7 separate regions of the Homo sapiens genome follow, and all the other regions are linked to region 1. Evidence: promoter capture Hi-C in 16 types of primary human blood cells and fetal thymus (Javierre and others, 2016). All regions are on one chromosome and are shown on one strand. The core of a region is centred on a gene start or on the middle of the fragment in contact, and the rest is flanking DNA. Distances in the headings are between cores, read along the strand shown.

The links. The method cuts DNA at HindIII sites, captures the fragments that hold promoters and counts their contacts. A CHiCAGO score of 5 or more calls a contact.
Region 2: a contact is called between a fragment that was not itself captured here and the fragment with the promoter of TOMM20 in region 1, in 5 of 17 cell types (total CD4 T cells, erythroblasts, naive CD8 T cells and 2 more). The highest score is 8.4, in total CD4 T cells.
Region 3: a fragment that was not itself captured here is called in contact with the fragment with the promoter of TOMM20 in region 1 in 1 of 17 cell types (monocytes); the score reaches 6.0 in monocytes.
Region 4: a contact is called between a fragment that was not itself captured here and the fragment with the promoter of TOMM20 in region 1, in 2 of 17 cell types (neutrophils and erythroblasts). The highest score is 9.4, in neutrophils.
Region 5: a fragment that was not itself captured here is called in contact with the fragment with the promoter of TOMM20 in region 1 in 4 of 17 cell types (erythroblasts, M1 macrophages, M2 macrophages and 1 more); the score reaches 7.4 in erythroblasts.
Region 6: a contact is called between a fragment that was not itself captured here and the fragment with the promoter of TOMM20 in region 1, in 4 of 17 cell types (neutrophils, erythroblasts, naive CD4 T cells and 1 more). The highest score is 11.1, in neutrophils.
Region 7: a contact is called between a fragment that was not itself captured here and the fragment with the promoter of TOMM20 in region 1, in 1 of 17 cell types (fetal thymus). The highest score is 5.4, in fetal thymus.

What each region holds. Positions count from the first base shown.
Region 1 is chr1:235,127,291-235,131,203 of GRCh38, reverse strand. It overlaps TOMM20 (translocase of outer mitochondrial membrane 20), which reads left to right and starts at 2,367. Exons shown (of 5, transcript NM_014765.3): 1 at 2,367-2,609. The coding sequence starts at 2,489. SNORA14B (small nucleolar RNA, H/ACA box 14B) reads left to right here and starts at 3,267; the gene lies at 3,267-3,401. LOC105379283 (a long non-coding RNA gene) reads left to right here and starts at 3,003. Exons shown (of 2, transcript XR_949295.4): 1 at 3,003-3,575. RBM34 (RNA binding motif protein 34) reads left to right here. Exons shown (of 11, transcript NM_015014.4): 11 at 1-21. RefSeq lists enhancers at 2,090-2,189, 2,420-2,639. The HindIII fragment of the contact is 4,902 bases long and covers 1-3,913 here.
Region 2 is chr1:234,455,498-234,459,116 of GRCh38, reverse strand. TARBP1 (tRNA guanosine 2 -O-methyltransferase TARBP1) reads left to right here. Exons shown (of 30, transcript NM_005646.4): 9 at 1,361-1,450. Among named protein-coding and RNA genes, the nearest start is that of TARBP1, 22 kb to the left of the region's middle. The HindIII fragment of the contact is 1,435 bases long and covers 535-1,969 here.
Region 3 is chr1:235,786,511-235,790,591 of GRCh38, reverse strand. It overlaps LYST (lysosomal trafficking regulator), which reads left to right. Exons shown (of 53, transcript NM_000081.4): 13 at 1,747-1,891; 14 at 3,219-3,392. Among named protein-coding and RNA genes, the nearest start is that of MIR1537, 65 kb to the left of the region's middle. The HindIII fragment of the contact is 1,173 bases long and covers 1,439-2,611 here.
Region 4 is chr1:234,367,667-234,371,558 of GRCh38, reverse strand. No RefSeq gene overlaps it. Among named protein-coding and RNA genes, the nearest start is that of COA6, 3.8 kb to the left of the region's middle. The HindIII fragment of the contact is 994 bases long and covers 1,310-2,303 here.
Region 5 is chr1:234,438,947-234,443,050 of GRCh38, reverse strand. All of the region lies in intron 12 of TARBP1 (tRNA guanosine 2 -O-methyltransferase TARBP1), which reads left to right. Among named protein-coding and RNA genes, the nearest start is that of TARBP1, 38 kb to the left of the region's middle. The HindIII fragment of the contact is 2,642 bases long and covers 281-2,922 here.
Region 6 is chr1:234,405,054-234,408,932 of GRCh38, reverse strand. TARBP1 (tRNA guanosine 2 -O-methyltransferase TARBP1) reads left to right here. Exons shown (of 30, transcript NM_005646.4): 24 at 2,834-3,030. Among named protein-coding and RNA genes, the nearest start is that of COA6-AS1, 33 kb to the right of the region's middle. The HindIII fragment of the contact is 6,487 bases long and covers 1-3,879 here.
Region 7 is chr1:235,969,389-235,973,459 of GRCh38, reverse strand. LINC02768 (long intergenic non-protein coding RNA 2768) reads left to right here and starts at 949. Exons shown (of 3, transcript NR_183724.1): 1 at 949-1,699. RefSeq lists an enhancer at 1,361-1,410. The HindIII fragment of the contact is 718 bases long and covers 1,428-2,145 here.

The DNA of each region.
Region 1 (3,913 bases), core at 1,118-3,617:
AAACCTCTGCTCTTAACCTTACTCCGTGTGTGCTCAAGTTCTTGATTTCCTTGGCATGAAGCAATGAACCTTGGGTATTACCCCAAACGATGTCGCTTCAGTATCTCACTTTGTTGCCCAGGCTGCTCTCAAACTGCTGGACTCAAGTGATCCTCCCACCTTGGCCTCCCAAAGTGCTAGGATTACAGGAGTGAATCACTCATCAATTCCAAGGGGCTAGAACTCCCAGGAACTGGGGACAAAGGCCAGCCAAATTCTTTATTATGCAACCTCGTGTTACTGGAAAAGGATCCAGATCCAGACCCCAACAAAGGGTTCTTGGATCTTGCCTAAGAAAGAATTTGGGGCCAGTCCACAGAGTAAAGTGAAAACAAGTTTATTAAGAAAATAAAGAAGATCACTCACGGTGGCTCATGCCTGTAATCCCAGCACTTCGGGAGGCCGAGGTGGGTGGATCACCAGATGTCAGGAGTTTGAGACTAGCCTGGCCAACATGGTGAAACCCCATCTCTACTAAAAATACAAAAATTTGCTGGGTGTGGTGGCACATGCCTGTAATCCGAGCTACTGGGGAGGCTGAGGCAGGAGAATCGCTTGAACCCAGGAGGTGGAGGTTATAGTGAGCCAAGATCATGCCACTGCACTCCAGCCTGGGTGACAGCAAGACTGTCTCAAAAAAAAAAAAAAAAAAAAAAAAAAGTGAAAGGTTACTTTGTAGAATGGTGCATACCCTAAAGCAAGAGAAGGAACATGTCCACCTTAGGTACAAGGCTTGTTTGTATTGAACAGCAAAAAAATGAGGAAGATGAGCTCTACTCCAAGAGCTTGTGACAAAGGATTTTTTGTGTGTTTGTTTTGAGACGAGGTCTTACCCTGTCACCCAGTTTGGACTGCAGTGGTACAATCATAACTCAACTGCAGCCTCAACCTCCTGGGATTAAGGGATACTTCCGCATCATTCCCCATGTAGTTGGGACCACAGGTGTGTGCCACCACGCCTGGCTAAGTTTTTAATTTTTTTGTGGAGACAGGGTCTCACCATGTTGCCCAGGCTGGTGTTGAACTCTTGGGCTCAAGCTATCCGCCCATCTGGGCCTCCCAAAGTGCTGGGATTACAGGTGTGAGACACTGCCTGGTCTTTGTCAAAGGACTGTTAATCCTGTGTAACTACTGTCTTCTGCAAGGATCAATATTATCTTTAAAGGGAAAATTAAACTAAGAATGCTTTTGTTCTTAAGATATCAGGACATCAGGACATTTCCTGGGTCTGTTAGGTAAACATTATTAACTTGTTCCCTTCCCTGTAAATATCCTGTGACCAAGAATGCCAAACTTCCTGGGAATGTGCCCCAATAGGTCTCAGCCTCATTTTACCCAGCCCCTATTCAAGGTAAGGTAGCTCTGGTTCCAATGTCTCTTGACACTGATGCTTGACTTCGATACCCCTCAACTTACAGTGTCTGTTTAATGCCTGCTTTCTGCCCACGATTTTCCTTGTCAATATCTTAAGTTAGATCATATATATATATATTTTGTTTTTTTGAGACGGACTCCTGATCTGTCACTCAGGCTGGAGTGCAGTGGCTCGATCTTGGCTCACTGCAACCTCTGCCTCCTGGTTCAAGCGATTCTCCCGCCTCAGCCTCCAGAGTAGCTGGGATTACAGGCCCCGGCCACCATGGCCAGCTAATTTTTGTATTTTTAGTAGAGACAGGGTTTCACTATGTTGGCCAGGCTGGTCTCAAACTCCTGGCCTTAAGTGATCCGCCTGCCTCGGCCTCCCAAAGTGTTGAGATTACAGGCGTGAGCCACCGCGCCTGGCCTGATCATGTGTATGTTTTCGTGTGGCTATAAAACAATTCACGTTTTCTATTTTTTCTTCAATTGTGTATATTTTTCAAGAAATTACTCCATTTAATTTTATTCCAGTTATCATAAAATGAGGCTATCCTGTAACATTCTTTTGAAATGGAACCACTACGCACAATGGATTGTGGCAACCTGAAAAGAAAGTACAGTTTAATTCAAACAAGTCACAGGCTGCCTGTGTTAGACAAGATGAAGCATTCGCAGTCTGGGACCCTGCATCTCTGTCTGCCACAAACAAGGCTGTCAGCTAGTCTTCTGAGTACGTGCACGCCAGTAACGCGTACGCCTCGTTACAGCATGGTCGGCGGATATGAAAAAAAGTCCGTGGTCACGTGCAAATTCCCGACTCCAGTGCGTACACCCAGCGGCGCAGGGGAAACGCCGGCTTCGCCCACTGCGCAGGCGCAGGAGCCGCGCTCTGGGCCTCTGCTCAGGCTCTGCCGCGGACGACCTCGAGGCCCTTAGTTGACTGGGACCGGAAGTGGCGTGTGCTCGGCCTTTCTGTGTTCCTGGCCCGCGGCCGTCGGGTGTGAGCTGCGCCGACCGCTCTGAGGGTTCGTGGCCCACCGCTCCTTCGCGGTCCCTGCCGCCACCGTCCACGCTCAGCGTTGTAGAGAAGATGGTGGGTCGGAACAGCGCCATCGCCGCCGGTGTATGCGGGGCCCTTTTCATTGGGTACTGCATCTACTTCGACCGCAAAAGACGAAGTGACCCCAACTTCAAGAACAGGCTTCGAGAACGTGAGTGGGTCCTCTCTCCCCTGGCCAGGCTTGCTGCCTTCGGCCGCCGCCCTTCACAGGAGGGGTCATTGCCTCCCACCAGCCTGTGGGCCGCGCAGGGCGACCGCGTGGTGCGGCCCTCAATAGGCGATGGCGCTGGCTGCGCCGCTCCGGGGGCTCTAGTGCCCCGTAGGAATTCCATTTTGGAGGAAGGATTTTTCCCGTTTTGTTTTCCCCAGACACTTTAGCCGTGCAAATGCACTCTTGATTTCTGTTGCAATCTCGGGTGTGTGTGGCCTGGGGAGGAGGTTGTCTCTTTTTTTGTCGTTCATCTTTTTAAACCTCTACTCTTAACTAAAAAGTCGTGCATTTTTGTCGCAAATTTTAGTCTGAGGCTAAATCCGCATGCTCAGTGCAGTATCATTGTTGCATTCTTTTTTTTGAGACGGAATCTCGCTCTGTCGCCCAGGCTGTAGTGCAGTGGCGCGATCTCGGCTCACTGCAACCTCCGCCTCCCGAGTTCAAGCGCTTCTCCTGCCTCAGTCTCCCCAGTAGCTGGGATTACAGTCGGGCGTCACCACGCCCGGTGATTTTTTGTGTTTAGTAGAGACGGGGTTTCACCGTGTTGGTCAGGCTAGTCTCGAACTCCTGACCTCAGATGATCCGCCTGGCTCATTGCTGCATTCTTAAACCCTCTTGGTAGCTTCGTTCTAAGTGCTTCCAAGATATGAGTGAATGCTATAGAAATTGCAGGGGAGTCCAAAGGGCTGCGCTTCTCCCGTGGCTCAGTCTTATTTCATACCTGCGACATCTTTTAAGAGAGGTCTACCAGAGGGGAATCGTGTCATGAAAACCGTTGTGATCCACCTTGAATTTTCGGAGAATCTTCATTCGCATCATTGAAGAGCAAATTTGTTGCAATAAGAAATATTTTTTGGCTTATCTTGGTTGTTCAGCCAAATTAGTTTTTGGAATTAAAATTGATACGTAAGTTACTAAAGCCCAAGGGGTACAAAGAAGGGATTATTGTTTACTTAAGTAACAGTGGTTACGGTTTAATTCAGCTATACTAAGTCATTTCAAGTGTTCAGTAGCCCTGTGTGAGCAGTGACTGCAGCGCTGATCTTACTAGCACTAAGAATCAGACATCTAGTTCCAGCTTTCTTATGTTTTAGGAGGGAAGGGATATAGACATAATTTGATTTATGACTAGGCAGACTAATAGAATACTGTTTTACATTCAGACCTTGAATTTCTAGGGCCAGGTTAGCGGCATAATTTGGGGTTTCTGAATCCTAATTTCTGTAGTTGTAAAATCAGGTAAT
Region 2 (3,619 bases), core at 3-2,502, 670 kb after region 1:
TAAAATAATAAATGTGCTTGTAATAAAATAATACATATGATCTCTCTAAATAGTCCTTGGCTGGCACTGGGACCTTGGATTTTGGGAGGATTTACACTATCCTAACTGCTAAGAGTGGCTTATTGTATCTAAAGTGTTTGTTCAATGTGGTTTATGCTGAAAACCTGCTTTCTTTCTGAGAGTCTGGAATTTCAGTATGTATGAGGCAAAAGGTGCCTGCATGACCACGTCCCAGGAAAAGCCCGAGGCACTGAGTCTCCATTGAGCTTCCCTGGTAGACAGACTTTCACTGTGTTGTCACAGCTTGTTGCTGGGGGAGCTAAGTGTGTCCTGGGTGGCCCACTGGGAGAGGACTCTTGGAGCGTATGCCTTGTTCCCTCTCTACATTTCCCCTCATCTTCCCCTGTATCGACATTCAAGGAATATATATGGTGTGTATCCTGTGCTTTTTACAAAGCCTCAGTAAATATTGCTTACTACAGGGGTCAGCAAACTCTTTCTGTGCAGTGCCAGGTAGCAAACTTTTTTAAAGCTTTGCCGCTGGCTTTATGATCTGTGTTGCAACTTCTGAACTAAATAAACAGGCGTTGGCTATATTCCAAAAAAACTATTTACAAAACAGGCTGTGAATAGTTTTTGCCAATGCCTGGCCTAGATAGAGCCAAGGTATCTTATTTCAAGATGTACAACCTTAAGGGAATGAAAGACCTAGGTGGTTTTCTGAGTCAGGGGCTCATTTTTATGGCATTGAAAATAATCACTTTTTTTTTTTGAGACAGAGTTTTGCTCTTGTCTCCCAGACTAGAGTGCAATGGCACGATCTTGGCTCACTGCAACCTCCACCTCCCAGGTTCAAGTGATTCTCCTGCCTCAGCCTCCCAAGTAGCTGGGATTACAGGCATCTGCCACCACAACTGGCTAATTTTTGTATTTTTAGTAGAGATGGGGTTTTGCCATATTAGCCAGGCTGGTCTCGAACTCCTGACCTCAGGTGATCCACCCACCTCGGGCTCCCAATGTGCTGGGATTACAGGCGTGAGCCACCGCGCCTGTCCTCACATTTTGATTGAAAGTAATTTCTTCTTATAGAATGGTGTTTTTTTTTTTTTTAAGATTGTGACTGTCTTTAAGATAGTAACCTCAATTTTAAGTTAACATGGTATCTTTATGTTAAAAGTTGAATAATATTTTCTTTTTATTTGCTTTCTTTTGATTTAGCTAATGATATTTGCTTTCTTTTGATTTAGCTAATGATAACCTACTTTAAGTAGTAGAATTGATTGCCTTCACAGTGGTTTTAGTTTATTCAATTAAACATTTTAATACGAGTAATTTTTAAAACCTTTCCTGCCCTGCCCAGGAGAAAGTGTCACTTTCTGATGTCTCAACTTTTCTCATGTCTCTGAGACAAGAGGAATCCTTAGGACGAGGAACTTCATTGTGGACAGAGGTGAGATTAAAGATAATTTAATAAAGTCTTTGAAAACTATAAAAAATGGTTTTCTTAATGAATTTCTTAGTAGCCATTTATATAAAATATAATGATTGCTTTGTTATCTGTCAGCAGAGACTTTGAAATATTGTATATTTGCTTTGAGTGGACTTAACTAATTCTGCTAAGATGCTTATGGAGAGGTGGGAGAGAGGAAAATGTTTGCAGTACAGATAGACCTATTTAGAAGAAAAGATATTGCTAGTGGGCAGATCTCAACTCTGGATGAGATGCATTAGGAATAATGGCGATGTTAGACTCAAACACAGTAAGTGACACAAACTCCTCTTTCTCTTTTTTCTGTCATTGAATGGCCCCTTCCTCCACCCAGTTGTCCAGTCCTTATGTTTTGGTAATTCTGAGTTTGTCCTGACTTTCTGCATCCAATTCATCATGAAACCCTCCTGTCTCATAAACATCTTTCCTCTTCTCCATGCCGCTCTGTGGCTCTAGCTCAGACCCTCCTCATGTGAAGCTTCTTCCCTTGTGATGATGTCTTGTTGATGTCACGTCCCTGGCCTCCAGACCTCTTACTGTGCCACCCTTTTCCTCAGGACTCTTCAGGGCCAGCCTCCTCCCTCTTTTTGTAAACCACGGGGTTTAGTTTATACAACTGACTTCAGTGCTTATTTGTTATTTATGTGGCTGAGTTCTGATCTTTGTCCCCTCTGGGTTATATAGTTTTTGAGAAATGAAGAAGGGGCAAATTGTGGCCTTTAAAAAATAGAATTTTGTTTTATTTTCTTGATCACAATGCATCTAATTTTGTGGAATTTGAAAAATATAGAACCATATAAAGAAAATAAAAATAATCTGTAATGCCTACCGTCAAACTAAATTCATATTTTTTGGTTTAGTTTTTAGTTCTTTTTCCCTATGAATATACGTATTCTCTTACTTGCCTTCTCATTATAGATAAGTATATGTGTATTTAAAATAATACATATGATCTCTCTAAATATAGATTAAACTGTTTTAAATTTTATTTTTTTGTATTCACATATATATGAGCATTTTAGCATGTTGCTAAGTAATTTTTCAAGATGTAGTAAAAATGCAGTTGATTGTATCATTTAAAATTTATTGTATTAGTTCCTTTTCTTGGACTTTGTTTCAAAGTTTTTGCTTTTATAAATAACACTGGGCTGGGCACAGTGGCACTTTGGGAGGCTGAGGCGGGCAGATCACTTGAGGCCAGGAGTTCGAGACCAGCCTGGCCAGCATGGCGAAACCCCGTCTCTACTAAAAGTACAAAAATTATCGGGGCATGGTGGTGTGTGCCTGTAGTCTCAGCTACTTGGGAGGCTGAGACAGGAGAATTGCTTGAATCCGGGAGGCGGAGGTTGCAGTGAGCTGAGATCGTGCCACTGCACTCCAGCGTGCACGACAGAGTGAGACCCTGTCTCAAAAAGTAAATAACATTGGGAGGAACTTATTTCTATATGTTTTTATTTATACCTGTTTTTTAGGATAAATTCATAAAATTGAATTTGCTGTATTTCAATAATTTTAAGGTTCCTGATACAGATTGAGAGAGGTTTCAAAGTATGACAGTGGACATCCACTTTATCTACAGTGATACAATACCAAATGTATCAGCATGTTAAATTCTTTGCCACTTTGGTAGATAAAACATAGCATTTGGTGACTTTATTTGCATTACTCTGATCACTGTTTTTTAAAACATTTTTTCATGTCTTTGTAGTATTTCTTTTGTGAATTGTCTATTATTGTCCTTTCCCCATTTTGTTTTGGGATTTTAGTGGTTTTTTTTTCTTTTTTACTTGATTTGTAAGTGCTCTTTTTATATTGAGGGTATTGACAAGTTGTTATACCTACTGCAAATAATTTTTTTTTAGTTCCTTTTTAAAAAATTTAGCTTTGCTTGCTGAATGGGTAATGAATTTACGTGATTTGAAGATTAAAACTATTGGTCAGAAGTGTCTTATTTCTGTTTTGCTCTTCTATCTTGCCTTGATCCTTATCGTACTCCACCCCATCCCCAAACAAAGGTGTTTTTGATATAGACTCTGCTTACTACCTTGCAAGTTTTCATTAAAATGTATATTCATAGTGATTTCTTTATCTCAGTAGGCAAAGACCCTTCTTAGTCTTTTTTTGTAAAGT
Region 3 (4,081 bases), core at 776-3,275, 660 kb before region 1:
ACAAATCTTTCTCATCCAGTGGAACCTCTGTTTTAGGACACTATGCCTTCACTAGAATTTTCTGTTGTGGATTGAATTTTGCCACCTAAGAACTGATAGCTCTACATGTGATAATATTTATTATGCTATCTAATGTGCATTGAGTGCTTTCTGTGTATGTGTCACTTTGCTCAGCTGGTTCTATATACATTTTTAATCTTAACAAGTTAGTAAGTGCTCATACTATCTGTATTTTTAGAGGAAGTTAAGTAGCATGACCAAGTTATGTAGCTGGTAAGTGATGGAAAGGAATTGAAACCCACCTGTTTTTAATTCCAGAGCCTTAACATTGCTACTATACTATAAGCTATGCAGATTGCTTTCTCATGTTTTAATGGAGGCAATCTCAATGTAAACAGTCTCTTATAAAATGAATAAATATACATAGTGACCTGAGAAAAGTAAATATTGGAAAGTTTTTTCTTAATTTTTATTTTAAGGATATATTAGAAAACATATTTTAGAAAGATGATTTTGTATAAACACTTAAAAATAGTAGACATATATAAAAAGTTTTGAAGAGAGATAAAGAATATTTTGCTGCGATATCATACCTTTTACCTCTAAACTAACTGGTGCCTTTGGGCAAATTAACCTCTCAGCACCTCAATTTTGTCACCCTATATATATTTACCTTATAAGATGGTTGTGAGCATTAAGTTAAATATTTGTAATATTACTACTCTATAATTCCTAGGTACACACTGGTTTTGTCCTACTCTTTTATTTGCAGAAGTTCATATTTGGTATGGAACATTTTTAAAATTTCACATCAGATGTGAGTTCTCTGTATATCATATATCTTGGTCAGCAGCCTCAAAATAATCAGTGACCTTAACTCTTCTTTTTTAAAACTATTGTCATCGCTACAGGGAGTATTTTTTTAACATCGGTCATGGTTTTACCTGTTGAAAAATAGCAACTAATATGTATGCAGTCTAATAAGCAGTAGTGTTCTTTAAAAGTCTGAGCCTTTGGACATGTATTTTGGATTTTGATATATCATAACATAGCTTTACATAAAGTCACATGTATTATAATGACAAGTAGATCATCATACATCTTCAGGCAGTGCTGGGTTTTCAAAGATGAGGAAGAGGAGTCAAGATAAATAACCAGATAGCCCAAGCCTGTAAGCATTTACCCTAGCTTGCCTTAAAGAAACATTAGAGTTTCAGAATCACTTAGCAATTATATGCAAAAACTACTCACCAGGGAATATAAATTATGAATATATTCAAACACTAGAGTTTTTCCTTAAAATTTGTAATATGATATTTTTTTTTAAATCATGCCATATTGTGATAATTCTAGAATGAGTTTTGGTAGTGTGAGGCATGGACAATGATGTGTGCTCCCTGGACCAGGGTCAGTGAAGTCATAGTTGATAAAAGAAGCTTGGTACACATTGTAATAGGTTGTCACATAGCGGTCTGGTTACGCCCACAATTGTCCTCAGTTATTATACATTTTTTAATATCTAATAACTTTTAAAGTACTGAATTACCATTTTTCATCCCTCGTGCTTTTTTGGAGTTAACATCTATACTCTGAAAATATGGTTGTTTAGAACAGGTCAGGCTCAGACATTCTGGGTAGATAACCTACTACAAATGAACAAATTTGCTTTGTATTCTTCTAAATTCACTTTTCTACTCAGTTGTTACGAACCATTTTACTGATCATTCTAACATCTTTTTCTTATAGAGAGCGACAGACCAGAAGGTGCAGAGTACATAAATCCTGGTGAAAGACTCATAGAAGAAGGATGTATTCATATAATTTCACTGGGATCCAAAGCGTTGATGATCCAAGTGTGGGCTGATCCCCACAATGCCACTCTTATCTTTCGGTATTGATTATCCTCAGCCTCCCATGAATAGATAATGTATTTAAATAATTTGTGTAAGAGACATTAATGTGAAATCTACTAATAAAAGTTCATTATAGCAAAACAAAAAGTCTCATTTAAAAATATATACATTCTAACAGCTATTAATACCACTTTTATAATAGTGTATTATTCTATCCAAAAATCCATAAAGTCTAAAATATATTAATTCTCGGCTGGGTGTGGTGGCTCATGCCTGTAATCCCAGCACTTTGGGAGGCCAAGGCAGGCAGATCACCTGAGGTCAGGAGTTTGAGACCAGCCTGGCCAACATAGTGAAACCCAATCTCTACAAAAAATAAAAATAAAAACAAAAAAACAAAAAACCACAAAAATTAGCCAGGCATGATGGTGCATGCCTGTAGTCCCAGCTACTTGGGAGGCTGAAGCAGGAGTATCACTTGAATCTGGGAGGCAGAGGTTGTAGTGATCCCAGATCGCGCCACTGCACTCCAGTCTGGGTGACAGAGTGAGACTCTGTCTCAAAAAATAAATAAATAAATAAAAACAAAAAATAAATGAGTAAATAAAATACATTAATTCTCTGTTTGATTTTAGATCAAATACTGAAGTCTTATGCTATGGAAATATTCTATCAGATTGTAATGGTCTTAAGATGTTATTAACAGACATAAGTTTTCCATGTGCATTATATATTTAATAGCGATTACCTAATAAGCTTGGGTTCTCCTTGTTATCTTGTCCTTTTATACTATCTCCTTTATTAAGTAGTATAGATACAGGTCTTTTATTTGTATTGAGTATGAATAGTATGATACTATTTGTCTAAAACTCAAATCTAAACAAACCAGTATGTTATTTAGGAATATATACTTTGTAAACGTTACAAACATTACTAGGTGCCTTATGTACATTATCTCCTCATTCTTTCAGTAATCCCACAAAGTAGATTAGACCTCCAATACTTAGACATTTATATTAATTTTTCTATGAACCAAATAATACATTGTAATTTCTAAATGGGCAATGGCTATATAAATAGTAATAATATATATTTTTTTACAAACTGAATTCTGAACATTATTGCCTAAATTATGACTACCAGCCAATGAGCCTAATCTATTTTAGTTCATGAATTGAGGTAATGATAGAATAACTAAGTAACTTATGGTATAAAACGAAGACCTACTGACTTTTCAAGCACTTTAAAAAAAATAGAACTGATTTTTAATCTTACTTATTTAGAATTATAGTTACTATATGTATGTTAAACACTGAGGTCAGAATTTTCATGTTTTCAGCCTATGCCTTTTCTCTTTTTCTGTAGTGTGTGCATGGATTCAAATGATGACATGAAAGCTGTTTTACTAGCACAGGTTGAATCACAGGAGAATATTTTCCTCCCAAGCAAATGGCAACATTTAGTACTCACCTACTTACAGCAGCCCCAAGGGAAAAGGAGGATTCATGGGAAAATCTCCATATGGGTCTCTGGACAGAGGTAGGAAGCATTTTGAGAAAATGCATCTCAATCTCAGTTACAATGTTATGTTTCATTAGTCAATTATAGCTTCTGAAACAGAATACAGAAACTTCTAGGTTTTTACTATAATAAAATTTACTATATTTTTTGTTGTTTCTTTTTTTATTATTATTGTACTTTAAGTTCTAGGGTACATGTGCACAATGTGCAGGTTTGTTACATATGTATACATGTGCCATGTTGGTGTGCTGCACCCATTAACTCGTCATTTACATTAGGTATATCTCCTATGCTATCCCTCCCCCCTCCCCCCACCCCACGACAGGCCCCAGTGTGTGATGTTTCCCTTCCTGTGTCCAAGTGTTCTCATTGTTCAATTCCCACCTATGAGTGAGAACATGCGGTGTTTGGTTTTTTGTCCTTGCGATCGTTTGCTGAGAGTGATGATTTCCAGCTTCATCCGTGTCCGTACAAAGGACATGAACTCATCCTTTTTTATGGCTGCATAGTATTCCATGGTGTATATGTGCCACATTTTCTTAATCCAGTCTATCATTGATGGACATTTGGGTTGGTTCCAAGTCTTTGCTATTGTGAATAGTGCCGCAATAAACATACATGTGCATGTGTCTTTATAGCAGTATGATTCATAATCCTTTGGGTATATACCCAGTAATGGGATGGCTGGGTCAAATGGTATTTCTAGT
Region 4 (3,892 bases), core at 557-3,056, 760 kb after region 1:
TTCAAATAAGTAGCTTGAAGTCAACCATGATGGGACTGTTTACACTATGGAAATCAACAAGCCAGGATTTTATGTTTGGAGCTAACTCACTAGCACACCACAGCATAGAATAGGTTGAAAGAAGCCAAAAGTTGATTTTTTTTGGAAAAGAAAAATTAAAATTGGCAAACATCTAATAGCTATAAAAGGAGGGATGTCAACAATCTTTATCAAGAATGGAAACTAGAAATACTATAGACATCAAAAAAGTTAGATAATCTTGTAAACAATTTAGTGCAAATAAGATTTAGATGACTGTACAAACTTCAAGAAAAACAACTCAAAAGTAGAGAAACTATTACATAATTTGAATGAGTAGTGAAGAATCTTCATACACACAAATCCCAGGTACGTGGCTCCACCAGTAAGTTCCTACAAACTTTGAAATCATTCCATTCTTACTGAATAAGGCTACCATAACTTTTGTACTAATTATAAAATCCCCAAACCTCTGAAACACCACACACTTTGGAACTCATTTGGTGAAAAATACGACTTAAAGTAACATGAGGCTCTTTATAGTTGTTATTATCACTTAGGTGACTGCATATGCTTTTCGGTAGAAATATTAATGTATTTCATTATGGGTACTGTCCCAGTTCTTGTTGAGAATATTATACAATATATGTTGTATGTTTCATACTACCCTTCTAATATTTAAAATAGTCTATATTTCAAACATCTGGCTCCAGGGATTTCAGGTGAGTTATGTGGACCTATATAAGAAAAAATCTTTATGACTTAGGTTAAGAGGAATTTTTAGCCATAAAGGAAAGTCTCAGTAATTATCAAATGATGTGGCCGGGTGCGGTGGCTCACGCCTGTAGTCCCAGCACTTTGGGAGGCTGAGGCAGACGGATCATGAGGTAAGGAGTTCGAGACCAGCCTGGCCAACATGGTGAAACCCCGTCTCTAATAAAGATACAAAAAATTAGCCGGATATGGTGGTGTGTGCCTGTAATCCCAGCTACTCAGGAGGCTGATGCAGGAGAATTGCTTGAACTCAGGAGGCGGAGGTTGCAGTGAGCTGAGATCATGCCATTGCACTCCAGCCTGGGTAACAGGGAGAGACTTCGTCAAAAAAAAAAAAAAAAAAAAAAAAAAAAAGATGTGTTACATACATAAAAATATTGGGCTACATAAAAGTAATGGACTTTTGTTTACCAAACAATACCATGAAGCAAGTGAAAAAGGATTAGTATCCAGAATATACAAATAACACAAATCAATAAGAAATAGACTTGCCCATTTTGAAAATGGGCAAAAAGCTTAAATAGGCACAGCACCAAATGCAAATGACTAATACATGAAAGGACCAACATTCCCATTAGTAACTATAGAAAGGAACATGAAAATAACAATGCAGTACTATTAGACACCCAGCAGATCAAAAAATAATTTAAAAGTCTGACAGAAACAAGTTTTAAGGAAGAAGCAAGGAATATCCTCATACACTGTGGTAGCATAAGTTGATACAATCAGGGAAAACAGTGTGGCATTATCTAGTAAGATTGAATTATCTAGTAAGATTGAAGATACACATTCACTGTGACTCAGCAACTCTACAGAATTTCCTGTACATATGCATTTTTTTAATAGCTGAAACCATTATGCAACTCAAACTTGTATCAACAATAGAATGGATAAATTATGGTATAGTCATACTGTGAAATATAATACAGCAACAAAGAGAAACAAACGATTATTTACAATAACATGGTGAATTGCCATACTGAGACAACCAATGAATACAGAATATTTCCACTTACATAAAGTTCAAAAACGGGCAGAACTCTACTATATTGTTTAAAATAACAGTCATAAGTAGTAAAACTATACAGAAAAGCTAAGAAATGATTATCACAAATGTTCCTCTCTAGGGTAAGAAAGGAGATATGATCAGGGAGGGGCACATGGTGGGGCTCCTGGGATGCGGAGAATGTTTTATTTATGGACCTGAGTGTTCGCTTTATAATTATTCTTTAAATAAACTGTACATATATGTTTTATTCACTTTTCCATAGGAATGTATATCTCACAATTTCTAAACAAATAAAATGAGTAATTGACCTGAGGAAGGTCATCTTTAATAAATTTGATTTACAGAAAGGTAAAAATAGTGGTCACACAGAATATTTGTAGTGTTATTACTAAATTTTTAATGAATTTAGTATCTTAAGTGCTCTTCGAGGTCAAAAGTTAGTGGTCTCTAGTGCTAAATGCCACCGTGCACCTAAGCAATTCCTAGTGGTCTGTGGTAAGCTTAAGGGATAGACAAGGAAGATATTACCAGAGAGATGTAGTGAGTTGCAATAACATTCCCCACCTTACCCCTGAAGAAGTCTAGTTCGCCAGTTGGGAAATGCTGGTTTTACTAACAGAGCAAAAACAAACTAGAAGAGAGGAATTTTGTGGTGTCAATAAGAAAAAGAAAATTAACACAGGATAACAATTGCAAAGACCATTTCACCTTACAAAATCTTAAAGATTAAAATGGAACAATGTGGGTGCCATAAAATGATTTCAAGTGTGCTGTTTTGACACAAAGAGGGTGTAATCACCCAGCCTATGTTTGGAGGAGAGAGGAGGCGAGGAGGAGTCAGTGTGAAGAGGTGGAAGACGTGTTGTGCTGGGTTGCCATCCAGAGGAAATTTTGAGTGGGTGCTCTCTAGTCGGAACGAAGTAGATCCCCAAACCACTGGTGGGCAGGGCCAGACAGACCCAGTCGCACTGAAAATGTATGTGTTGTTTTTCTGTTGCTGCCCACAGACTTTTATTTATAATCTGTACTGTTACAAAGCAGTTATCACAGACACCTACTCACGGGCACAGACCGGAGAACGATTCCCTTGACTTCAGTGTTGCTACAGCGATCTTCTGAATTTCTTCTAGATCTCTGTGCTGTCTCCTTGCCTTCCTCAACCCCCTTAACTATAGGTATACGCCAAGATGCTGTCCCTTCATTTCTCTCTCTCTCTTGCTCTCCTCTCTCTCTCTCTGCATTGTTTTAGTTGGTGAGTCAATTCACTCTGATAGTTTCAGTTAGCACTTCTGTCACAAAGACTTGCAAGACTATGTTTTGGTCCTTAAAAGAACCTTTGTGACAGTTTTCTTGTTCCACATCCCTATTGGATATCTTCACTTGTTTATCTTTCCATCATTCCAAGACGTTCAGAACTGGACTCGATATTTTCTCTCTAGAAGCGCTGCTCTTCTTAAGCTGTTCTTTTTCATCAGTTCCACAAGTCCTTTGTCTTCCCGTTAGAAGCCTTCCAGTTCTCTTTTATGCTCCCTGCTCTGTATTTACATAGCCAATCCATTTCACAGACATTATGCATCTGTGCAGTGCCAGCCTCCATGGTTGGCCTTGGGGATAAAGACAAATAAGAGGCCAGTGGCCCATGCCTGTAATCCCAGTACTTTGGGAGGCCGAGGCGGGTGGATCATGAGGTCAGGAGATTGAGACCATCCTGGTTAACAGGGTGAAACCCCGTCTCTACTAAAAATACAAAAAATTAGCCAGGCGTGGTGGCGGGTGCCTGTAGTCCCAGCTACTCAGGAGGTTAAGGCAGGAGAATGGCATGAACCCGGGAGGCGGAGGTTGCAGTGAGCTGAGATCGTGCCACTGCAGTCCAGCCTGGGCAACAGAGCGAGACTCCGTCTCAAAAAAGACAAATAAGGTAGGTCTCAGCCTTTGAGAAGCTCAGTCTAGTGGAGGACATGGACCATATTATCCTCTAATAAAGGGCAATAAGAGCTATGATAGAGGCAGGCATCCAATGCAATGGGTGTCCAGAACAGGAGTTTGCCAAGAGACCTCAAAAAGGGGAACACAGGTGGTATTAGAAACAGC
Region 5 (4,104 bases), core at 352-2,851, 690 kb after region 1:
CCAAAGTGCTAGGATTACAGGCATGAGCCATTGTGCCCAGCCCCAAACCATAATTTTTATTCTGGCTTGAACTTTTGCCCACAGTTTGTATATTGTGACAGGGTGTTAAATTCAGAGATGTGGCAGTGACCAGGGAATGTGCCTTGAGGGTGAGATAGAGGCTGTTCTGTATTGCGGTAATTAAGAGGAGCCACTGGGGTAGGGATGATAATATTGGATACCTTGAAGGCAGCTACTTTTCTTCAAGTCTTTTTGTTCTCTCTTCTCCAAGGCCTAAGCTTTCCCTTGAAATCTCAAATTTATTTTAATTGAATGGGTTTGATTATATATGAGGAAAGTAAATCTATTTTATGCTATTAATGTAAGTTTGATATTTAAGGAGTTGACTATATATATAGGAGAAAGAAAAGGCAGAAAGAGTAGTATGGAATATGCAAGACAAGAGTATTCTGTTTTTCCCATATTCATTGGTTATAGTTTTTAATTTTTTAATAAAGGCTTTTACTTTCCAATCATTTGCTGGTGGCTTCTTGACCTGGCAAGTGACTCATGAGATACTCCAGAGGCTATATAATATAGCCCCTGGGTAACATGAAAATTTAAAATTAATTTTTAATGTATGTAATCTCTTAATGAACACTTCTCAGAGTGATAGATACAGCATTTTATGAAGTGTCTATTAAATCTTCTGCCAAGTTAGTCCTTTGTCAGATATGTGGTTTGCACATATTTTCTTTTTGTCTGCAGCTTATCTTTTCATTTTCTCAACAGTGTCTTTTGCAGAGCCAAAGTTTTTATTCTGATGAAATCCAGTTTATTTTTGTTTTGTTTTATGGATCGTGCAGTAGGTATTACGACTGAGAACTCTGCCTTAGCCCCAGGTCGTACAGGATTTTTCTCCTTCGTTTATTATTTTACTTTTAGACTTATGATATTTTTAGGGTTAATTTCTAAGGTGTAAGGTTTAGGTCAAGGTTAGTTTTTTTTGCCTTTGCTGGTGTAGTTGCACCAGCACCATTTGTTGGAGAGACTGAGTATCCTTTCTCTGTTGAATTGTTTTGTACTTTTGTCAAAAATTAATTGGCTGTGATGGAAACAATCCAAAGTAGATGGGTAGATGAATGGATAATATGTGGTTTATACATACTCAGCCATAAAAAGGAATGAAGTAGTAATACATGTTACAACGTGGATAAACCTTGAAAACATTATCTTAAGGGAAAGGTGATCACTAAAGACCACATATTATATGATCTCATTTAAATGAAATGTCCGGAATAGGCAAATCTCTAGAGACAGAAAATAGATTGGGGTTGCTTAGGGCAGGGAGAAAATAGGGGTTAAGGGCCCGATGATTTAAAGGGTATGAGGTTTCTCTTTGAGGTGATGAAATGTTCTAATATTGATTGTGGTGATAGTTGCACATATCTGTGACTGTACGAGAAACTATTGAATTAGATACCTTTAATGGGGGAATTGAATGCTCTGTGAATTCTATCCCAAAAAATTGTTGACAAATAATTAATTTGGCTGTATTTGTGTTGATGTAATTCTGGACTCTATTCTGTTCTTTTGATCTAAGTGTTTATTCCTTTGCCAATACCACAAGGTTTTGGTTACTGTAGTTTTATAATAAGTCTTAAAATAGGTAGTGTGGTTTTTGTCCAAAAATATTTTTAGCTATTCTAGTTCCTTTACCTTTCCATATAAATTATATCATCAACTTATATGTACCTACAAAAAAAAAGTCCTGCTGGGATCTTGACTGGAATTGCATTAAATGCATAGATCAGTTTGTGGAGAATTGCTTTCTTATGCTGAAACTTTTAATGCATGAATATGGTATTTCCTTACATTTATTTATTTAGAGACAGGATCTTACTTTGTCACCCAGGCTGGAGTACAGTGGTGCAATCTCAGCTCACTGCAGCCTCTACCTCCCATGTTCAAGCAATCCTGCTGCCTCAGCCCCCCAAGTAGCTGGGACTGCAGGTGCTCACCACCATGCCTGGTTAATCTTTGTATTTTTAGTAGAGATGGGGTTTTGCCGTGTTGTCCAGGCTGGTCTCAAACTCCTGACCTCAGGCGATCTGCCCACCTAAGCCTCCCAGAGTGCTGGGATTACAGGTATGAGCCACCACGCCTGGCCTGTCTCTGCATTTACTTAGGTTGTCTGTGATTTTTTTCATCAGTTTTACAGTTTTCAGCGTATAGATCTTACACAGGTTTTGTAAGATTTATAACTATTTCTTTTGAGGGGAAGCTGTTGTAAATGATAGTTTTAAAATTTCAATTTTTAACTGTGTGTTACTAGTATATAGAAATATGATTGATTTTGGTATGCTGACCTTGTATCCTGTAACCTTGCTGAAGGACGTAATTCTAGGAGTTGGTTTGTTTGAAGGTTCCTTGGGATTTTCTTTGTAGATAATCATGTCATCTGTGAATAGGGGCAGTAGAATTGTCTGTAGTATTCCCTTACCCTTTTAATGCCTGTCGGGTCTGTAGTGTAAGCTCTGTCTTTTTATTCCTAATAGTGATAATTTGTGTGTGTGTGTGTGCGTGCTTACTCATGTGCACTCTCTCTCTGTCTCTGTCTCTGGCTTGCTAGTGGTTTATCATTTTATTGACCTTTTCAAAGAACCAGCTTTTGGTTTCATTGATTTTTTTTTTATAGATTTTTTTTTTTGGTCAATTTCATTGATTTCTGTTGTTTGGTTCTTTCTGCTTGGGTTTGGTTTATTTTGCCTTTTTTTCCTTTTAGTGTTAAGGCAGAAACATAGATTGTTGATTTTAGACGTTTCTTGTTTTCTGAAATGACAGTGCTATTAATTTTCCTCCAAGTGTTGCTTTAACTATATCCCACAAATTTTGGCATGTTGCATTTTCATCTCAAAATATTTTCTAACTTTCCTTGAAGCTTTCTCTTTGACCCATGAATTATTTAGAACATCTTTGGAGACTTTCCTAGTTACTGCTTTCTAATTTAATTACATTGTGGTCGCAGAGCATATATCATATGATTTCAGTTTTTAAAATTGTTTTAAGTTTATGTGGGATATGGCCTATCTTGGTGAATGTTTCATGTACTCTGGAAAAGAATATTATTTTACTAGTGGCTGACGTGTTCAATAAATGTCAGTTATATCCAAGAGTTTTCATGGTGTTTTTTAGTTCCATATCCTTGCTGATTTTCTATTTATTCCTTGTATCTATTACTGAGAGAGGAACTTTGAAATCTCTGTTGCCCAGGCTGGAGTGCAATGGTGTGATCTTGGCTCACTGCAACCTCTGCCTCCCGGGTTCAAGCGATTCTCCTGCCTCAGTTTACCGAGTAGCTGGGATTACAGGTGCCCACCATCATGCCTGGCTAATTTTTGTATTTTTAGTAGAAATGAGGTTTCACCATGTTGGCCATGTTAGTCTCGAACTCTTGACCTCAGGTGATTCAACCACCTTGGCCTCCCAAAGTGCTAAGATTACAGGCATGAGCCACCACACTGGGCCTTTGTTTTTCATTTCTCTCTTTACTCTCTTTTGGGCAGTTTGAACATTATTTAGTATTCCATTTAAATTCAGCCTTTTTTTGTGTGTGTGTGGTTGCCTTAGGATTGCAGTACATATACTTTGTACAGTCTCTTTGGAATTAATATTTACCACTTGAAGTGAATATAGAAACTTCCCTTCTGATAGGGCCCTTCCCCCTTTCCCCTGTCTATGGTAGTTGTCTTATATTTACATTTGTTGAAAAGCCTACAAGACAATGTTATAATTTTTGCTTTTAACCAACAAACAAATTTTAAAGAACTCAAGAGAAAAGGGCCTGTTATATTTACTTAGATGTTTACAGGTCTCTTTTGCTCTTCCTTTGTTCCTGATATTCCAAATTTCCCTATGGCATCATGTCCTTTTTGTTCAAAAAAACTTCTTTTAGCATTTCTTTTGGAACACATTTGTTGCAGTGAGTTCTCTTAGTTTCCCTCATCTGAGAATATCTTTATTTCACCTTCATTTCTGAAGGATATTTTTTCTGGATATAAAATCCTGGCTTGATAGATCTTATCTTTCATCAGTTTAAAAATGCTGTTCCATTTGCCTCTGGTT
Region 6 (3,879 bases), core at 1,211-3,710, 720 kb after region 1:
GGTAACCGCCCAACAGGTTCACCTCTTCCGCCGCCTACACAGAGCCGATTTATCAAGACAGGAATTGCAATAGAGGAAGAGTACACAGAGCTGCTTGTGCAGGAGACTGGAGTCTTATTAGTACTCAAATCGATCTCCCTGAGCATTCGGGGATCAGAGTTTTTAAGGATAATTTGGTGGGAGGGGGAAGGCCAGTGAGTCAAGGGTGTTGATTGGTTGGGTCGGAGATGAAATCATAAGGAATTGAGGTGTCCTTTTGTGCTAAGTCAGTTCCAGGGTGGGGGCCACGAGATCAGATGAGCCAGTTAATCGATCTGGGTGGTGCCAGCTGATCCGTCGAGTGCAGGTCTGCAAAATATCTCGAGCACCGACATAGGAGCAGTTTAGGGAGGGTCAGAATCTTGTAGCTTCCAGCTACATGACTCCTGAACCATAATTTCTAATCTTGAGGCTAATTTGTTAGTCCTACAAAGGAAATCTAGTCCCCAGACAAGAAGGGGGTTTGTCTTGGGAAAGGGCTGTTATCATCTTTGTTTTAAACTATAAACTAAACTAAGTTTCTCCCAAAGTTAGTTGAGCCTACACCCAGGAATGAACAAGGACAGCTTGGAGGTTAGAAGCAAGATGGAGTTGGTTAGGTCAGATCTCTTTCCCCACCTCAGTTACAATTTTGCAAAGGCGGTTTCAGAATCAGAGCACGAAGTGTTCCTATAAAAGGAAAAAAAAAAAAAACCTTTCTTAATTATGCTCATAGTTGTGTATTGTCCTGTCAGCTTGCTCATTGTGTAAAATGAGCGGACATGAGAATTCACGAGCAGAGCTTTTTACACTGATATGTATGAAAGCATCATTTACGTCCTGAAAGCCCCAGCCGAGCGATCACTGGCAGTGCCAACATTTTTGAGTGTGGGCTCCATAGGAAGCACTGTTTTCCCTATTGAGAATTATAGTGGGTTTTTTTCATTTACGAGTAATGTATACCTAGCTCCAAGATCTTGGTTGCTAACACCATTCTCCAATAAAACGAACCAGGGATCGCTGGAGAAATAGCTGATTCTAAAACTAGGGCAGAAAGTATACAAGATGAGCCTGGAGCATCTTGTAGAGTCAGAGAGCAAGGCAGAACTTTATACATACAGTGATGTGAGATGGGCATGCAGAGGGAAGATGTTCCCAGTGGCTGAAGCTGAAACAGTGTGAGCAACAAAATAAAGCAGTGTTGGATCACAACCCAAAGAATAAAATAAATATCCTCGAGCCCACACCGATATAAATAAATGATTGAATCAATAAATGAGTCCAGGCACTGTGGCTCATGCCTGTAATCCTGCACTTTGGGAGGCCAAGGCGGGTGGATCACTTGAGGTCAGGAGTTCGAGACCAGCCTGGCCAACATGGTGAAACCCCGTCTCTACTAAAAATACAAAAATTAGCCAGGCATGGTGGTACATGCCTATAATCCCAGCTACTCAGGAGGTGAGGCAGGAGAATCACTTGAACCCGGGAGGCAGAAATTGCAATGAGCCAAGATTGCAGGACTGCACTCCAGCCTAGGCGACAGAGTGAGACTCCATCTCAAAAAAAAAAAAAAGGATGGACAAGACAAATCTCTTGTAAAAAAAATTACAAGTAATTTTTATAGAAGCTCTGCCCTGAGGGAGGGGGAGCGTGACTTCTCACTCCTTCAGTGTGGGCTGCACAAGTGACTTCCTTCCATATGGGATCGTTATAACAAAAGACTGTAACAAGGGCTATGGGAGTTATAAGACAGGAATTGTGGACAAAAACCAGTGTATATCATAACATCACACCTTGTAATGTTGGCAGTACAGTCACTGACCTTTGATAAATGTTGATGACATGTTGAGTAAAGGAATGAGAGAAAGAGGATTGTTTATCTCTGTTTTTATCCTTCTCAGAGAAACTTAGAGTAACAAGTGTGTTATCAGCCATGCTGATGCCTTTGGTAAACTATTGTGTGAATATGGTTGTTTTGAATTGGTCAGTAGAAACTGGGCTGCCAGGCGCAGCCGGTAAGCATTTCCATGTGAGCCTTAGGGGAGAAGTGCATTTGGTAGGAGCATCAAAATAGCTTCTGATATTTCATTAAAAGTTTGGGTCCGTCTGGTTCCTTCATTAGTATATGTCACTTCCTTTGACCTTCAGTGTCTGTTGAACCATGTGATTTTAGAAAGCAAGGGATTGCTTGACATCTCCAGGCTGTGAAGACTAAAGTTCACAGGAAAAGACTACAAGGAAATTTAAACAGTTTTATTATTTTCCCCCTCATTTCTTAATTTTCCTGCCACTACTCAGTACTGTGTGGGTCCAGGATCACCATTAGGGAAGACAGAGTAGCTCAGAAATCAGTAGTGAGGAGGAGGACAGCACTTTGTGTGGTATCTTGCTCTAGGAGCATTTTCAAGCCATCAGAAGTGGGACTCTTGAAGACTATTTCTGACTTTCTCAGCACAAATTAAGATAATAGGAGATGGAGGCTCCATTTGAAAAACATTTTGGTTGTATAATGGTTAGCATAAAACATACTTTTTTCAAGTTAACTCAGGTACTAGAGTATGGGGGGCGGGGGGAAATGTACTGCAGCATTAATGAAAACTAGAGCTGGGAGAATGTGTTTTTCCTTGAGTAAATTGCAAATGCCTGTGCACCGCATTTGACCAGGAGGGAAGAATGAGAGGCCCTGGTAGCAAAGCCAGTGGAAGAAGTTTTACTAGGAGCAGTTGTATCATTCGTGTACTTTTTTTGTGTCATACAAGTGAGAGTAAAATGGTCCATGTCTGTGTTTTGAGGAATTTTTTGCCTTTCTTTTCAGAAACTAATTCTGAAGCAAGCCCTTATAGTTGTGCTGCAGTGGTGTTTCAATCACAATTTTAGTGTTCGACTGTATGCTTTAGTTGCTCTTAAGAAACTCTGGACTGTGTGTAAAGTGTTAAGTGTTGAAGAATTTGATGCCCTGACTCCTGTGATTGAATCCAGCCTCCATCAAGTGGAAAGCATGCACGGAGCAGGGTAAGGAGCCCTCGTCAACCTCATCGCCCTCACTCTCCTCCAGCAGGGCCCACAGGGAGGGGGCAGTGCCCATACTGTGTCAGCTTCTCCTTCCACATCCTCATGCTGCCGTCCTGGAGCATCGAGGGCTTGGACTGGGCCAGGCCTAAGCAGCTCACTTTGGGGTGTAGTTAATTACAGTTCATTGTCAGCTCCACCTTGACCTCTTATTGCCCTTTTATCCTCAATCCTTTATTGTACAAATAATCTTCTACATACTTGTACCTGTTTCTCTTCAGTATAGCTAAATGTCATCCTTTGTTGTTTGAGAACTGCTTAGAAGTGGCACGACCTGACTTTAAAGACATACTTTTAATCTCTCAGCTATACTAGTTATAGCTAAAGGCTTTTTTCTTTTCTAAGAGAACTCTCCTATTCCGCAGACAAAATCATACATGGAAGCTCAGTATCAAGCAAGTGACGTGGATGGGGTGAGGGAGCGGTGCAGGACCCAGTGTCTGTGAAGCCCCCACGGTGGTTCCCATGTCTGCCTCTCTTTCCCCGCACCTGTCACGGTGCAGAAGCAGGCTGCAGTGTCATAAGCATCTCCAGGTCTCTGCGCTTGTTTCCTTATCTCTGAGGTGGTGCTGTTTTGCCTTTTTATTATTATCATAGATTATTGCCATCCAGGAATTCTGGATTTTTTTTTTAAATTTTAGAGACACAGGCAATATCAACCAACATAAAAGATTTTTCATCTTAAAAGCTGAAAAAGCACCCACTAATTTATATACACAAATGGTTAAGTGTTGGAAGCAGCATAATAGGCAAATGAAATAGCATTTGGAAAACCAGTAACATGTAGAAGTC
Region 7 (4,071 bases), core at 537-3,036, 840 kb before region 1:
CACGCCTGTAATCCCAGCACTTTGGGAGGCCAAGACGGGCGGATCACAAGGTCAGGAGATCAAGACCATCCTCGCCAACATGGTGAAACCCCGTCTCTACTAAAATGTAAAAAATTAGCCGGGTGCGGTGGTGCGCACCTGTAGTCCCAGCTACTCAGGAGGCTGAGGTAGAGGAATCGCTTGAACCCGGGAGGCGGAGGTTGCAGTGAGCTGAGATCGTGCCATTGCACTCCAGCCTGGCAACAGAGCAAGATTCTGTCTCAAAAAAAAAAATTATTAACATGGCAAATTTCATGATATATACATATTTTACAATTTTTAAAATTAATAATGTAATATACCCAAAACCATTGCAGGTACACTTTGGGTGAATTACATAGCATGTGAATTATATCTCAATAAAGCTGTTTTGGGTGGGCACAGTGGCTCACATCTGTAATCTCAGCACTTTAGGAGGCTGAGGCAGGAGGACAACTTGAGGCCAGTAATTTGAGACCAGCCTGGGCAATATAGTGAGACCCCCATCTCTACAAAATCTTTTAAAAATTAGCCGGGTGTAGTGGCAAGTGCCTGTAGTCCTAGCTACTCAGGAGGCTGAGGCAGGAGGATTGCTTGAGCCCGGGAGTTTGAGGTTACAGTGAGCTATGATCATGCCGCTGCACTCCAGCCTGGGCCACAGAGCAAGACCCTGTCAAATAAATAAATAAGCTGTTTTTTAAAAATCACTGTAATTAAAAACAAAAACTCCTGGATACCTAAGGTTGGCAAAATGCTGATCGTTGTTGTGGCTGGCCGAATTCTAAAGATTTCAAGATTCTAATTTTGTACTGCTCTGAAGGGACTTTGCAGATGGAATTTAGATGACTAAGTAGCTGACGTTAAAACAGGCAAATTATCCTGGGTTATCCAGGCAGGCCCTTAAAAACAGAGGAGGGAGGCAGAAGAGTCAGAGAGATAAGGCAGAAACAGAAAGCGGGAGAGGAGAGGGTGAAGGGGGAGAGGGACTATTTACACTTCCCTTTAGGTTACAGGCACAGAGAAACCTTTAGGCTGAACTTAAAATATGTGAGTAGCTTTAAGCTAAACTTGATTTAACAGGGAAAAACAGGACTTTGCAAAAATTCTTTTAGGGAGTGTACTATCGAGCACATTTGAAGACCACAGGTCTCGAAAGCGGGGAAGACGGGACCCAGAGTCCCCCGCAGCAGCGTCACGGCCCAGCTCTGGTTCTCAAGTTGGGCTGCTGTTTTTCCCCTTTTTCTCATCCGCCAGGATGCCAGGCGCTGCTGAAAGCTGCAGCCGAAAGGATTTAGAATTCCTTACAACGGAGAAAGGGTCTTTGCTCAGACAACATGGACTTAAGAGACGGAAGGGCCAAAAAGGCTTGAAAACAGGCTCGAAGAGCGGCTTCCTGGTAGCTAGAAGCTTAAGTGGGGACAGATGAGCTTAACTGGCAAGCCTGCGTGTGTGCTCTCCAGCCCCCGTGATTCAGTTTAAATCTGGGCGGGTCTCCTCAAAGACAGTTCCAGAAGGGGCCACGTGAGGGCAGTAAGAGCCTCTCAATGCCTGTTTTTGGGGGAAGAGAGAAGTGAGGGCGGAGCGCGGGGAGCGTCCCAGGCCTGGCTACCCGGATAACTTCCCCAAAAGAAGCTATGCTCGGGCCTTCCCATCGTCCCACTCAAGAGCTTTCTTCATATTGGTGAGTTGCCCAACTGCTAGCAAAAGAACTTCCCAATTATGGTCAAGCCTCTTCATCTAAATTCAGATTTCCACCAAATAGCCCAGCCCTTTTCCTCCCCAAGTCATCTCCTTACTCAAACATTTGCAGACATTCGTCACACGAGATCCCCAGCCGTGGGCTCAGCATCTTACACCGAGGTACGAAAACACAGAAGTATTCCTGAGTGTATTCTGTGTATGCAAAAGTGCATACGTCTCCTTATGGACCAGGTTCTGAGTGAATCTAAGTGGAAAACACGGAATAGCAGGCTAATTCCAGAAAATGCAGGGCTTTTGCAAATAAGTGGGCGTCTAGTCACTAAGCAGGTAGTAATAACAGGTGATGCTAAATGATTGCTTCGAACCACTTTGTTAAGGGGATCAGAGAAGGGAGAAGGCTCAGGAGAGAGAGTGCAGCAAGAAGCTTTTATTAGCTGGATGGAAATGGGAAAACTAACTCAGGATAACCTTATGTAGTAGAATTTATTGTGCCCATTGAGTAAGTCAGGAAACTGAGGGTTAAGGAGGTGAAGTAACTTGGCAAAGGTCACGCCGTCAGAGCAGAGTCCAGTTCCAGATTTGGTTTACTCTAAATACCCTTCCTCACCCCCCTTTTTAAGAAATACCTTAAATGAAAATTTATTTTTACTTTATCTTACATTATTATTTATTTGTATTCAGCACATTTTCATTTAGAAAGTTGGAAAATAAAGGCACAAGAAAAACAAATAACAGTAATTTCATTACTCAATAATGGCCTCATCACTACAATCTTGTCCAGAAATGTTGTAAACACACACACACAATACTTTTACATATATTTTTGTAAGATATATATATAACAAAAAATGTGATCCTGTGATACTTTTCCGTATTTTTGTTTTCCATTTAAATAAATGTGCATATGAACATTACTTTGATCAACTACATAATAGTATCATACTCTATTATATGGACAATAAACTCTCACCAGTTCATTTATTGATGAACTTTTAGGGTGTTTCTATGTGTTTTTTGATGTGATAAATAACAATAAACCAATAAACACCCACATACTAATATCAGTGTCCTTTTTTTTTTTTTTTTTTTTTTTTTGAGAGTCACGCTCTGTTGCCCAGGCTGGAGTGCAGTGGTGCAATCTCAGCTCACTGCAACCTCCGCCTCCCGGGTTCAACAATTCTCCTGCCTCAGCCTCCCGAGCAGCTGCGACCACAGGCATGTGCCACCATGCCCAGCTAATTTTTTATATTTGTAGTAGGGATGTGGTTTCACCATGTTATCCAGGATGGTCTCAATCTCCTGACCTCATGATTCACCCGCCTCGGCCTCCCAAAGTGCTGGGATTACAGGCATGAGCCACCACGCCCGACCCTCAGTGTCCTTATTAATATCTTTAGGATAAATTTCAACTCAGGATTATTTAAAAATTTAAGACTTTCAATAGATACTCCCCAACTGCCTTACAGAAAGTTTGTACCACTTTATACTTCCACCAGCGGGAGTGTTGGAGAGGGCCCGTTTACCTATGTTTTTGCCTTTGCATAGTTTATTTTTTCATTTTTGCCAATTACATAGGTGGTGTTTGTTTATTAAAATTTACATTATTGGCTGGTTGCAGTGACTCACGCCTGTAATCCCAGCACTTTGGGAGGCCAACATGGGAGGACTGCTTGAAGCTAGGAGTTTGAGGCCCATCCTGGGCAACATACTGAGGCTCAGTCTCTAAAAAGAAAAAAAATTACACTCTTTAAGTTGCGGTAAACTTTTGAAATGCACACTAGCCACTTAAAGTTCTTTTGTCAATTGTCCTTCTAGTCCTCAGTTCTTTTTTCTAATTGGGAGAATCTCACTGATTTATAAGTGTCCTTTACATTTTAAAGCTAATTAACCTTTTGTTGTCTATTTTGCAAATAATATTCCCCAAGGGTTTGTTGTTGTTGTTGTTGTTTGTTTGTTTGTTTGTTTTTTTGAGACAGGGTTTTGCTCTGTTGCCCAGGCTGGAGTGCAATGGCGTGATCTTGGCTCACTGCAATCTTGGCTCACTGCAACCTCTGTCTCCTGGGTTCAAGCTATTCTCCTGCCTCAGCCTCTCCAGCAGCTGGGATTACAGGCATGTGCCACCACACCTGGCTAAGTTTTGTATTTTTAGTAGAGATGGGGTTTCACCATGTTGGCCAGGCTGGTCTTGAACTCCTGACCTCATGATCTGCCAGCCTCAACCTCTCAAAAAGTGCTGGTTACAGGCGTGAGCCACTGCGCCCAGCTTTTTTGTTGGTTTTTTGTTCTGGGGGATTTGGGGACATACGGAAGGTTTTAATCTACATGTAGTCAATTCCTGCTCAGTACGAATTA